Regions from separate parts of the Homo sapiens genome. Here region 2 is linked to region 1. The links are contacts of gene promoters, found by promoter capture Hi-C in blood cells and fetal thymus (Javierre and others, 2016). All regions are on one chromosome and are shown on one strand. The core of a region is centred on a gene start or on the middle of the fragment in contact, and the rest is flanking DNA. Distances in the headings are between cores, read along the strand shown. Region 1 holds the start of ZNF622 (zinc finger protein 622). Region 2 has its middle 440 kb from the start of LINC02100.

The links. Contacts are between HindIII fragments. The CHiCAGO score rates a contact against its expected background, and 5 or more counts as called.
Region 2: a fragment that was not itself captured here is called in contact with the fragment with the promoter of ZNF622 in region 1 in 1 of 17 cell types (naive B cells); the score reaches 5.4 in naive B cells.

What each region holds. Positions count from the first base shown.
Region 1 is chr5:16,464,459-16,469,342 of GRCh38, forward strand. It overlaps ZNF622 (zinc finger protein 622), which reads right to left and starts at 1,342. Exons shown (of 6, transcript NM_033414.3): 1 at 583-1,342. The coding sequence starts at 1,207. RefSeq lists enhancers at 650-719, 3,002-3,061, 3,092-3,181 and a silencer at 2,527-2,749. The HindIII fragment of the contact is 4,211 bases long and covers 1-3,057 here.
Region 2 is chr5:18,298,850-18,304,261 of GRCh38, forward strand. No RefSeq gene overlaps it. Among named protein-coding and RNA genes, the nearest start is that of LINC02100, 440 kb to the right of the region's middle. The HindIII fragment of the contact is 6,425 bases long and covers 1-5,412 here.

The sequences.
Region 1 (4,884 bases), core at 92-2,591:
CCCAGTCTCTAGTACTTCCTTATAGCAGAGTGGACAGACTAAGACATGAACACCTACACCAGCACTGTTAATAGGATGTGGGATGAGGGAAGTAAGGAATAAATAGCTCATAAAGGCAAAGAGGTGAGGGTGCTGGCTCCAGCTCCAAATTTCTGGCTGAGTTGGTTTTGATCCCCTCATTCTGTTTTACTCAACTAAATTAAGTGCAAAACCATCATAACTGGAAACCCACTAGAATCGCAAATTACACGGCAGCTGGTATGACGATAGCATGTCCTCCTGTGCATATGTTAAAAGCCTCTTCATCCAAAACACAGAAGGCATCAATTCATTCTCCAAATATGCATTAAGCACTTCTTTTTCCAGACAAGGTTTTAGGCCTTGGAGAATGAATTGAGTGAACTAAACAGCCAAACCTGCTGGCCAGATAAGGCACTTCAGAAAGCGTCTAAACCACCTTCCCTCATCATTTTTACTTAAAAGCTCTCAAACACACACACACACCCATCTCGAGTATAAATCTGGAAACTTAAGGGTGGGCCAAGTTCCTCTTTACCCTCCCCGCCCAGACAGGGCCATCACCGTCTCCATCCAGGTCCTCTTCCTCCTCCTCGCTGTCCTCCTCCTGCTGCTTTGCCAACTTCTTCGCCTGCTGTTCAAACCACTGGAGCCGGGGTGGTTTCTCACTCGGGTCTCGGTCGTGGGTCCCACGGCCACCAGTACCCACGGCCACGACATTCCTGGCCTCCTTTGCAGGCGCTGGGGGCGCCTTCTTGGGAGACATGGACGGCTGGGCCTTGATGGCCTGCTGGATGGCCGCGTTCATGGCATCCTTGTCCACACTGTCCACGCCCAGTCCTTTCTCCAAGTTCTTTTCATTCATCATCTCCACTTTCCGATTCACTGCCTGCACGGCCTTCTTCTCCAGCTCAACGTGACGCCGGGACTTGAGGTGGTTCTCGTAGGCGTTGAAAGAGGCAAACTTCTTACTGCAAACGGTGCAGTAGGTGGCCGAGCCCTTGCTCTCCTCCTCCGCGACGGCCCGCTGCGCCCGCACTCGCTCCTGGAAGCCCTCGGCGGTCACTGGGGCCATGCTGGCCACCTTCCGCCGCAGGTTGTAGCGGTGCCAGTCCGTCTTATAGTGGGCCCGCTGCATGTCCGCGTCGCGGAACGCCACCCGGCAAGTTATGCAGGTGTACGTCGCCATTGCCAGGCGAGAAATAAGAACCGACCAAGCCAAACACCTGGTGATCAGCGCCGTGGCCCCACAAGACCCTCAGACCTTAACCCGCCTCAGCAGCCAGGAAGAGCCACTCGACACGCCGACTTCCTGATTGTCACTGAGGAAACTTCCGGCACACGTCGGAAGTTATTCACAACTGGACAGGAAACCCGCCTCTCAGGCTGTGGCCACGCCTCCGCCGCCGTGAGGCCCAGGAAGCCGAGGGAACGCTGTGGCTGAAAGGGACCTGGGTCCGCTCAGTCAGCCCGAGGTGGCTGTTGATTGAGGGAGGTCGCGCCCTCCCAGTTACCTTCCCTGGTGGTTGTGCCGCTCGGTGTGACGCGGTCAAGGGGACGGCTACGCGAGAATGGGGGAGTGGGGCGCCCGAGGCTGCTCCTGGGCCCTGGGAAGCCCCCGATTAATGAATGGTCGGGTCAGCGACGCGAGGGTCGGGGTTTCTCTGAGGACCGCGCGCTGCACCTGCGGAGCCGGGTGAATGGATGTCGCGAAGGCAAGGGCTGCCCTTACCCCTCGGGGCCGACCTCGGAGCCCTCGCCCGTGGTTGCAACGCTTTCCCGGGAAACCGGAGAAGCCAGGCCGGGGGCTCGGCCTTTCTGAGGCGGCCCTTCCGGCGGAGGACACCGGCGGAATTTGAGTGCACAGAGTGCGCGAGAGGAGCTCCCTGTAGACACACAGTCCAAGCCACGTAGGTAATTCTAATAGCAGCCACATTTTTAAAGAGTAAAGAGAAATCGGTGAAACTGCTTTTAATGTGTTTAATTTAGCCCATCCTGTCATTTCAGCATGTAATCAGTCTAAAAGAATTAATTAGATCTTTTACGCTCTGTCGTTGGTTCTAAGTCTTGGAAATCCAGTGTGTGTTTTAGAGTTAACAGCCCATCTCAATTTGGACTAGACCCGTGCCAGGTGCCCAGTTGGCTGTGTACCCTCATGTATATAGGACAGCAAAGTTCTGTAGAAAAGAACTTCAGGCCAGGCGCGGTGGCTCACGCCCGTAATCCCAGCACTTTGCGAGGCCGAGGCGGGCGGATCATCTGAGGTCAGGGGTTCAAGACCAGCCTGGCCAACATGGCGAAACCCAGTCTCTGCTAAAAAATACAAAAATTAGTCCCGGCGCAGTGGCGCAGACCTGTAATCCCAGCTACTTGGGAGGTTGAGGCAGGAGAATCGCTTGAACCCGGGAGGCGGAGGTTGTGGTGAGCCGAGATCGCGCCACTGCACTCCAGCCTGGGCAACAGAGCAAGATTCCATCTCAAAAGAAAAAGAAAACATGAACTTCAAATGCTTGGGGAGGTCGTAGATTTCATCCACACAGCCTGGTTGAACCAGAGTCAGCCTTGTTAGAGTCGAATGTTGCATGCTCAGAATCCAGGCTGCCAAGAGAAAACCAAAAGAAGATGGCGCTTTAAAAAACCTTCCAGTGCCTTCCCTTGACTCAATCAAATTCAAACACCTTACTTTCTATTCTCCGAGGCTCTACCCCTCCCTCTGAGGTCCTGCCACACCCCCTTCTCTACCCTGCTCACCCTACTTGAGTCGCAATGACACATTTGATGTTCTTCTAACAAGCACTTTAGTTGGTACTAAGTCAGAAAGTCAGAAATCCATTACTCTTCTGCTTGGAACATCCTTTTGCTGGCTTGCTTCCTTATTTTTTGGATCTCTGCCCAAATGCCTTTGTAAGAGAGGCTTATCCAAATCCACTTACCAAAAATAGTGCCTACCTTCCTAAGTCCTTACCAGGCATAACTTTTCTCCAGTACTGTATTAGTTATCTACTACTCTGTATTAAATTACCCCCAAATTTAGCATCAAGCTTTATTTCAGTTTCTGTATGTCAGGTATTTGAGTGACTCAGCTGGGTGGTTCTGACTAAGATCTCCTAAGAGGTTGCAGTGAACATGCTGTCCAGGGCTAAAATCATCTGAAGATCTGACTGTATTTGACTGTGGCTGGAGAGTCTCCCTTAAAGATGGTTCATTTACATAGCTGATAGCAAGAGGTTTTGGTTCCTTGACAAGTAGGCCTCTCCATAGGGCTGCTTGAGTGCAGCAGAGAGCCACATGAAATTCATAGACCTAGCATTGGAAGTCACACAGTCGTTTCCACAATGTGTTGTTACTTTTGCAGGTCAGCCCTATTTAATGTGAGAAGGGTTAACATAAGGGCATGAATACCAGGAAGTGGGAAGTGGGGGGCAGGGTGGTTTTAGGGGATCATTGGGAGATCAGCTACCACTAGCATTTGTTGTCACTGATTTCCCAGGCTTAGCACTGGAAGTCCTGCATCCCAGGAAATCCCTCAATCCTGGGCAAACCAGGATGTCTAGTCACACTGCATGTTAGTCATCTGCGTCTAGATAGAACATAAGCTCCATGACAGCAAGCACTCCTTTGTTGTATACCCTAATGCTAGAACAGTGCCAGCAGATCAACTGTTCAGTATTTGTTAAACGAATCTTTTGCAGTGCAAAAGTTAAGTCAGATGGTGATTTTTATTTCTGAAAACTTATTTTGAGATTATCAGTATCTTTTAAAATAGCTGAGCCATCTGGATACTCACTTTGAGAAATGTAGCTAGTATTAGTTGTTAACTGGAATAAGCAAAGCAGAGTATATTTTCAAGCTTCCCTAAAAAGTAAAGCAGAAGATGGCTATAAAAGTAAAGAACTTCTGGTTTTACTTTTGCCTATTATCATTCTTATATGGCTCTTCCAGCATCTGTTCTTCAGGTCACTATTTCCTCCCTGCCTCCTCTAATCTATTTTCATGTTCCTCCTATTTCAGCATCATTGAACTCTCCAGTTTCTTTACTTTTCTTCTTTAAAGGGGTATTGTTTCCTCCGCCATACTAATTTTCCAATGTACTGTTCTTCTGCAGTCTCCAAGATAACCTTACTCTTTCCCCATATCCCCCTCTACAGTAAATACAGGTAATCAGTAATTTTCCTGTAGTATTTTTTTCATATGTCACTTTTTCTGTTCAAGAATAGTTGTCTGATGCCCATAAGATAAAGTTTAAATTCCATTTGTATCTTTCCTTTCCTGGCTTTCGTATCTCCCATAGTCTCTCCCACATGCTATGTATTTTTTGTAATATTCTACTGGTTCTAAATTAAGGCATTCCTACCCTCACGAAGTTTTTTTTTTTTTTTTTTTTTTTTACTTCTTAGGGATGATAAAAAAATATTTACAGTTAAATAGCTGGATCTAGTACAATGAAATATAAAGAAAGGGCTAATGAGTATTTAGGATAGAGAAATCTCATGCCATTAGAGAGATCAGAAAAGTTTTCATTAAGGAGTAGACATTTCAGATGGGTCCTAAAGGAGAAGATTGAGGACTCTGCAAGTGGAAAGGGAGGTGGAACAGGTAGAAGAAATACTGTGGAGGGAGGAAAATCAAGGACATATTTAAGAAGAATGTGTCTACGTTGGATGAAGCTTAGGATACAAACAAGGGAAAATGAGACTAGAGAGAGCCACGATATCATTGGCAAAAGACTTGGATTGTTGTGTTTACTGCTCATGCTTCATTTGATGGAGAGTCACAGAATGTTTCAGCTTGTATGGCACCAGGAATAGAAGTGGGCCTTGAGTAAATCCAGCAGCAGTATCTGGAACTAATTGGAGAAAAAAAAAA
Region 2 (5,412 bases), core at 981-3,480, 1.8 Mb after region 1:
CCTCATCTATAAACCATCATTTATATTCCTAATTCTTCCTTCCTGTTGGGCTTGATATACTTTCAACATCTTTTAGGTAAGCCACACGGATAGGTGGTCAATCTAAATGAGTGAAAAATATTCTGTAGCAATCAAGAAGATAAATCAAACCTTGTAAATTTTCCCTACAAATTGGAGCAATATTATGACTTGAACAGTTTATCAAAATTAAGAGCAGTGATTCTTATTCCTAGCTGTCCATTACAAACACCAGGTGTGGGGAGTGGGTAATTTACACATTGAATATTAGGCTTTCTATTAGTCCATTCTCACACTGCCATAAAGAACTACCTGAGACTGGGTAATTTATAAAGAAAAGAAGTTTAATGGACTCACAGTTCCATAGACTGTACAGGAGGGATGGCTGGGGAGGCCTCAGCAAACTTACAGTCATGGCTGAAGGTGAATGAGAAGCAGGCACAATCTTCACATAGTGGAGCAGGAGGAAGAAAGGGTGAGCAAAAGGGGAAGTGCCACACACTTTAAAACAATAGATTTCCTGAGAATGCTCTCATTATCATGAGAACAGCCAAGGGGGAAATCCATCCTCATGATCACATCACCTCCAACCAGGTTTCTCCCCCAACATTGGGAATTACAATTCAACATGACATTTGGGTGGGGACACAGAGATAAACCATATCAGGCTTCAACTGACAATAAATTAGTCAGAAGCCTCAGTACTTGTGCTCAGACTTGGGCTCAGGCTTGGGTGTTTTCTTAAAAAAAATCATTCCAGGTGATTTTAATGTGTAACCATGGCTGAGAACCAGTGAATTAGATAATCATTTTCTAGTGCATTGCTCAATTAAGATAATTATGCCCATAGAGCTTAAGCTATACCTGCTCCACACTTTCCATATCTAACTTTTATACCACCATTCTCTCTCTTCTTAATAAACACATTGTCATTATAAGTCATCACTGCTTTGTCTGTATCTCCAACAATAGGGAAGGGTGTGAAGGAATTTGAAGAGTTTTAATCCATTTTTTACATCTCTAGGGGTAATAAATTTATAGGCTCATGAAATTCTTCTTACTGCTTCTATTGAAGGAAGGGAAGAAGATCTGTTGACATAATGTCTAGGGAGAAACTTTAAGTTAATCTTGACACCCAGAGATACTAATTCTTTTTTTTTTTCCTGTATTTTCTTTTATAGACTTAAAATGACTGCTCTGCAGCCAGGAGTAACTGAAATATTTGGCTTCTTAAAAGTGATGACCTATTTAATGAACAGATGATATAAATATAAGCCATAAGGTTCTTATTAAAATATAAATGGAGGGGTCAATTTCTTAAATGTTTTTAAATATTCAAGGGTTCACAAAGAGGGAATTTTTTAGAACAGAACAGAGATTTCCCTAAAATAAGTTTTATTTTTCTATTAAAATATGCATCAATATCATTATAAGTATGTTTTTCGAGGTTGCCCTTTCCTGCTTTGAATGGTTATGGCAGACTTTGTTTTTCTGTTTATCGCATCTTTAGAGGAATGCCCACATGCCAGAAACAAGTACAACTGAATTTCCTTAACTTGAAATTTCTAAAAAGCAAATAAAATGAAAGAGAATTACAGAGATGAAACAAATTTTATAGAAACTTTTGAATTACATTCGTCCATATTGTTTTATTTTCTGATGTTTTATAGGCTGGGCCTTAGACTAGATCTTTATTTTCATGTCTTGTTCTGACCACATGACATAGTTTAAGGTAGAAACATACACTGTCTGTCAGAGTAAAGCAACACAGAACAATGAGTTCAACGAGTTAATTCACTGGCAATTTGAGTTTTTCCTGATGCTAGTACATGTATGTTCATTCTGTCATTCATAGAGAATCACAGGACAAGTTCTTCCATGGGAAGCAGTTTTATTTTATTGTAGGAAAAAAAGTACTTCAGAAGTAGTTAAGTCCTAGCATAAATAATTATTTATATATATATACTCATATTAGATATTAATTTTAAACAGGTGAAATAGTGAAGTAACAATTATAATGAAAAATCTTATTGTACTGAAAAAACATTGATGTCTACTACATTGGAAGGATTTAAAGCCTTGAAGCATTTTTTTAATCCAACAAACTAAAAATGGAGACTGAGTGAAGATTGCGAATTCACTGAATAATCATTTTGATTCAAATGGTAATGTCACTGAGAAGAAACATTTATTTGACAATCACAAGTGGTATTACCATTTGAATAAAATGATAATTTTATTTTGTTTGCAAAATAGGGTACACATACTATTTATAATTATTTCGTTGTTAAATTTTAAAACTAATTTAATTTCCTGGCCTCTTTCTAAAGTGTGTAGATTAATACCTAATTAGAATTTTAAAAATGAATTATTGGATCTGATGTTTAATGAGATTGTCTGTTGCCATAAGAAATTATAATCTGTTTCACACCTATTTTCTTCTTTTTCAGCTTTTACTTTAGATTCAGGGAGTGCATGTGCAGGTTTGTTACCTGGGTGTGCTGCATGATACTGAAGTTTGGGGTGATCAAATGATCCCATCACCCAGGTAGTGAGCATAGTACTCAACACTTTTTCAACCTTTTCTTCCCTTACTCCCTCCCCTTTCTAGTATTTCCCATTTCTGTTGTTACCATCTTTATGTCCCTGAGTACCCAATATTTAGCTCCCACTTACAAGTGAGAACATGTGGTATTTGTTTTTTTTTTTTTTTTTCCTGTGCTAATTCACTTAGAATAATAGCCTCCAGCTGCATCTATGTTGTTGCAAAGGACATGAATTCATTCTCTTAGAACTGCGTGGTATTCCATGGTGTATATGTACCACATTTTCTTTATACATTTCACCATTTATGGACACCTAGGATGATTTCATGCCTTTGCTATTGTGGAATTGTGTTGCAATGAACATATGACTGCATGTGTCTTTTCGGGAGAATGATTTGCTTTCTTTTGTATATAAACCCAGTAATGCGATTGCTAGGTCAAATGGTAGTTCTAGTTTAAGTTTTTTGAGAAATCTCCAAACTGCTTCCCACAGTGGCTGAATTAATTTGGATTCCCACCAACAATGTGTAAGTGTTCCCCTTTCTCAGCAGCCTCGCCAGCACCTGTTGTGTTTTGACGTTTTAATTGTAGCCATTCTTACTGCTGTGAGATGGTATCTCATTGTGGTTTTCATTTGCATTTCTCTGATGATTAGTGACATAAGCATTTTTTTCATGTTTGTAGGCCACTTTTGTGACTTCTTTTGAGAAATGACTGTTCATGTCTTTTACCCATTTTTAAATGGTTTTTTTTTTTTTTTTTTTTTTTTTTGCTTGTTAAATTCCTTATAGATTATGGATATTAGACCTTTGTCAAATGTATGGTTTGGGAATATATTCTCCCATTCCATAGGTTATCTGTTTACTCTGTTGATAGTTTCACTGGCTGTGCAAAAACTATTTAGTGTCATTAGGTCCCACCTACCAATTTTTGTTTTTGTTGCAATTGCTTTTGAGGACTTAGTCATAAATTCTTTTCTGAGGTCAATGTTCAGAATGGTGTTTCCTAGGTTTTCTTCTAGGATTCTTATAGCTTGAGGTTTTACATTTAAATCTTTTAAATTTTGAGTTAATTTTTGCATATGATGAGAGGAAGGTATCCAGTTTGATTCTTCTGCATATGGCTAGCCAACTATCCTTGCACCATTTTTTGAATAGGGAGTCCTTTTCCTATTGCTTATTTTTGTCTACTTTGTCGAAGGTCAGATGGCTGTAGGTAAATTTCATATATTTTCAAGAAGAGATTATGTTTTAGAGTTGATGCTGTCAATAAAGCACAAACCAAATAGGTTAAAGTAGTATCTAGAGTTATGATAAGATGTTTATTATATCTGACAGTAAGCAGATACAGTAATTTGTGGGACCAAATACTACATTTGGTTTGCAAGCATTGTTCATGGCATTGAAAGACCCTTGGTTTAACCAGAGAAAGAGCATGGGCTTATTGAATTCTAGTTCTGCGACTAATTTTGTGACATTGGACATATTTAGTCTTCCTGCTTTATTTATAAAATAGAGATGACAATGCATATTCCATAAGGTCTTTCTTAGGAATTAATCTGATAATGCCTAGAAATTCTCAGAACACTGCAAAACTCAGTAGCTTACCCACCACTATAATCCTAATTTTTTTATCCAGCAAAACAAATTCTGATATTGGATAATGCTAGATGCCAAGTCTTTTTTTCTTTGTTGGTAGCCTTTCTTATTGGGAATGTGGCACTGTATTTTTTTCTACAAAAAGGTAGAAAAGCAAAAATCTGAGCCGATGTGTATATGGGTTTTTCATTTTCTTTTAAGCATGTGCCCATGTATTTCCCCTTTAGTATAACTATTACTATTATATGATTAAAAAAAAAACACTAAATTGGCAAATGACCCATCACCCACACACATACACACACACACACACACACACACATACACACACACACGAGAGAGAGAGAGAATCCCTAGCAATTTGGTCCAAAATATGAGCTCAGTGCATCCTACAGAGCAAATGTTCAACAACTCTGTGTGGATGGGCATCAAGTAGGTAGAGTGGAGGCTGCAATTCCTACTTTTTCTTACTAAACTCTAAAGTTTTGTTCACCTGAAAGTTTACTACAATATAAGGAGATAATATTCACTTTACCCTGAGTGCTTGGCTCTGAATTATGACCTAGATTCATGCAAAGCTATTAATTTAACATAGTTCCCTACACATGAATGAATTAAATTCCACTGAAGCATAAAATAATATGTAAATATTCAACTAGAATATTAGCCACTGATCATCTGAAGGATAGAAACAGCCAAAGAATCAACAACAGAATGATGTTCTTCTACCTGAGTCAGCTTTCAGCATTTGGAGTTGGAGTGGCCTCTGTTCTTGGCATTGGTGAGATATTTGTACTTAGCCATTTTTTTCCTGGTATAGAGGACTCAATGCCTTCTGTGATTCAGATGATTCCTGGACTCTGCAGTTTGTAGGCAGGGACCATCAAGGACTCTCAGTCTCCCTCAGTGTCCTACTACTTCTCCTTTAGGCCCTTGAATGGAAAGAGCTGGTCTTCTCTCCTGAAAAGTGGAGCTCTAACTTCCACTCACTGATGAGCAAGGCTATCTTAATTTCTATATCCCCTTTCCTGTGGGTAAATCCCAGTAGAATCACTCTCTTCTAAGAGAATTGCCTTTAGTATCTTAAAGAAGAATAAGCAAAACACTAACAATTTCCAACTGTAGCTGTAATTTCTGAATTACAGCTTTAATAAGTGTTACTCTTTTTATTAGGGAGACCACAAGGGCAATAAGCAATGTGTTTAGTTTTCTTCTCTAATATAACATTTCCTACTTTTTCCACTAACACT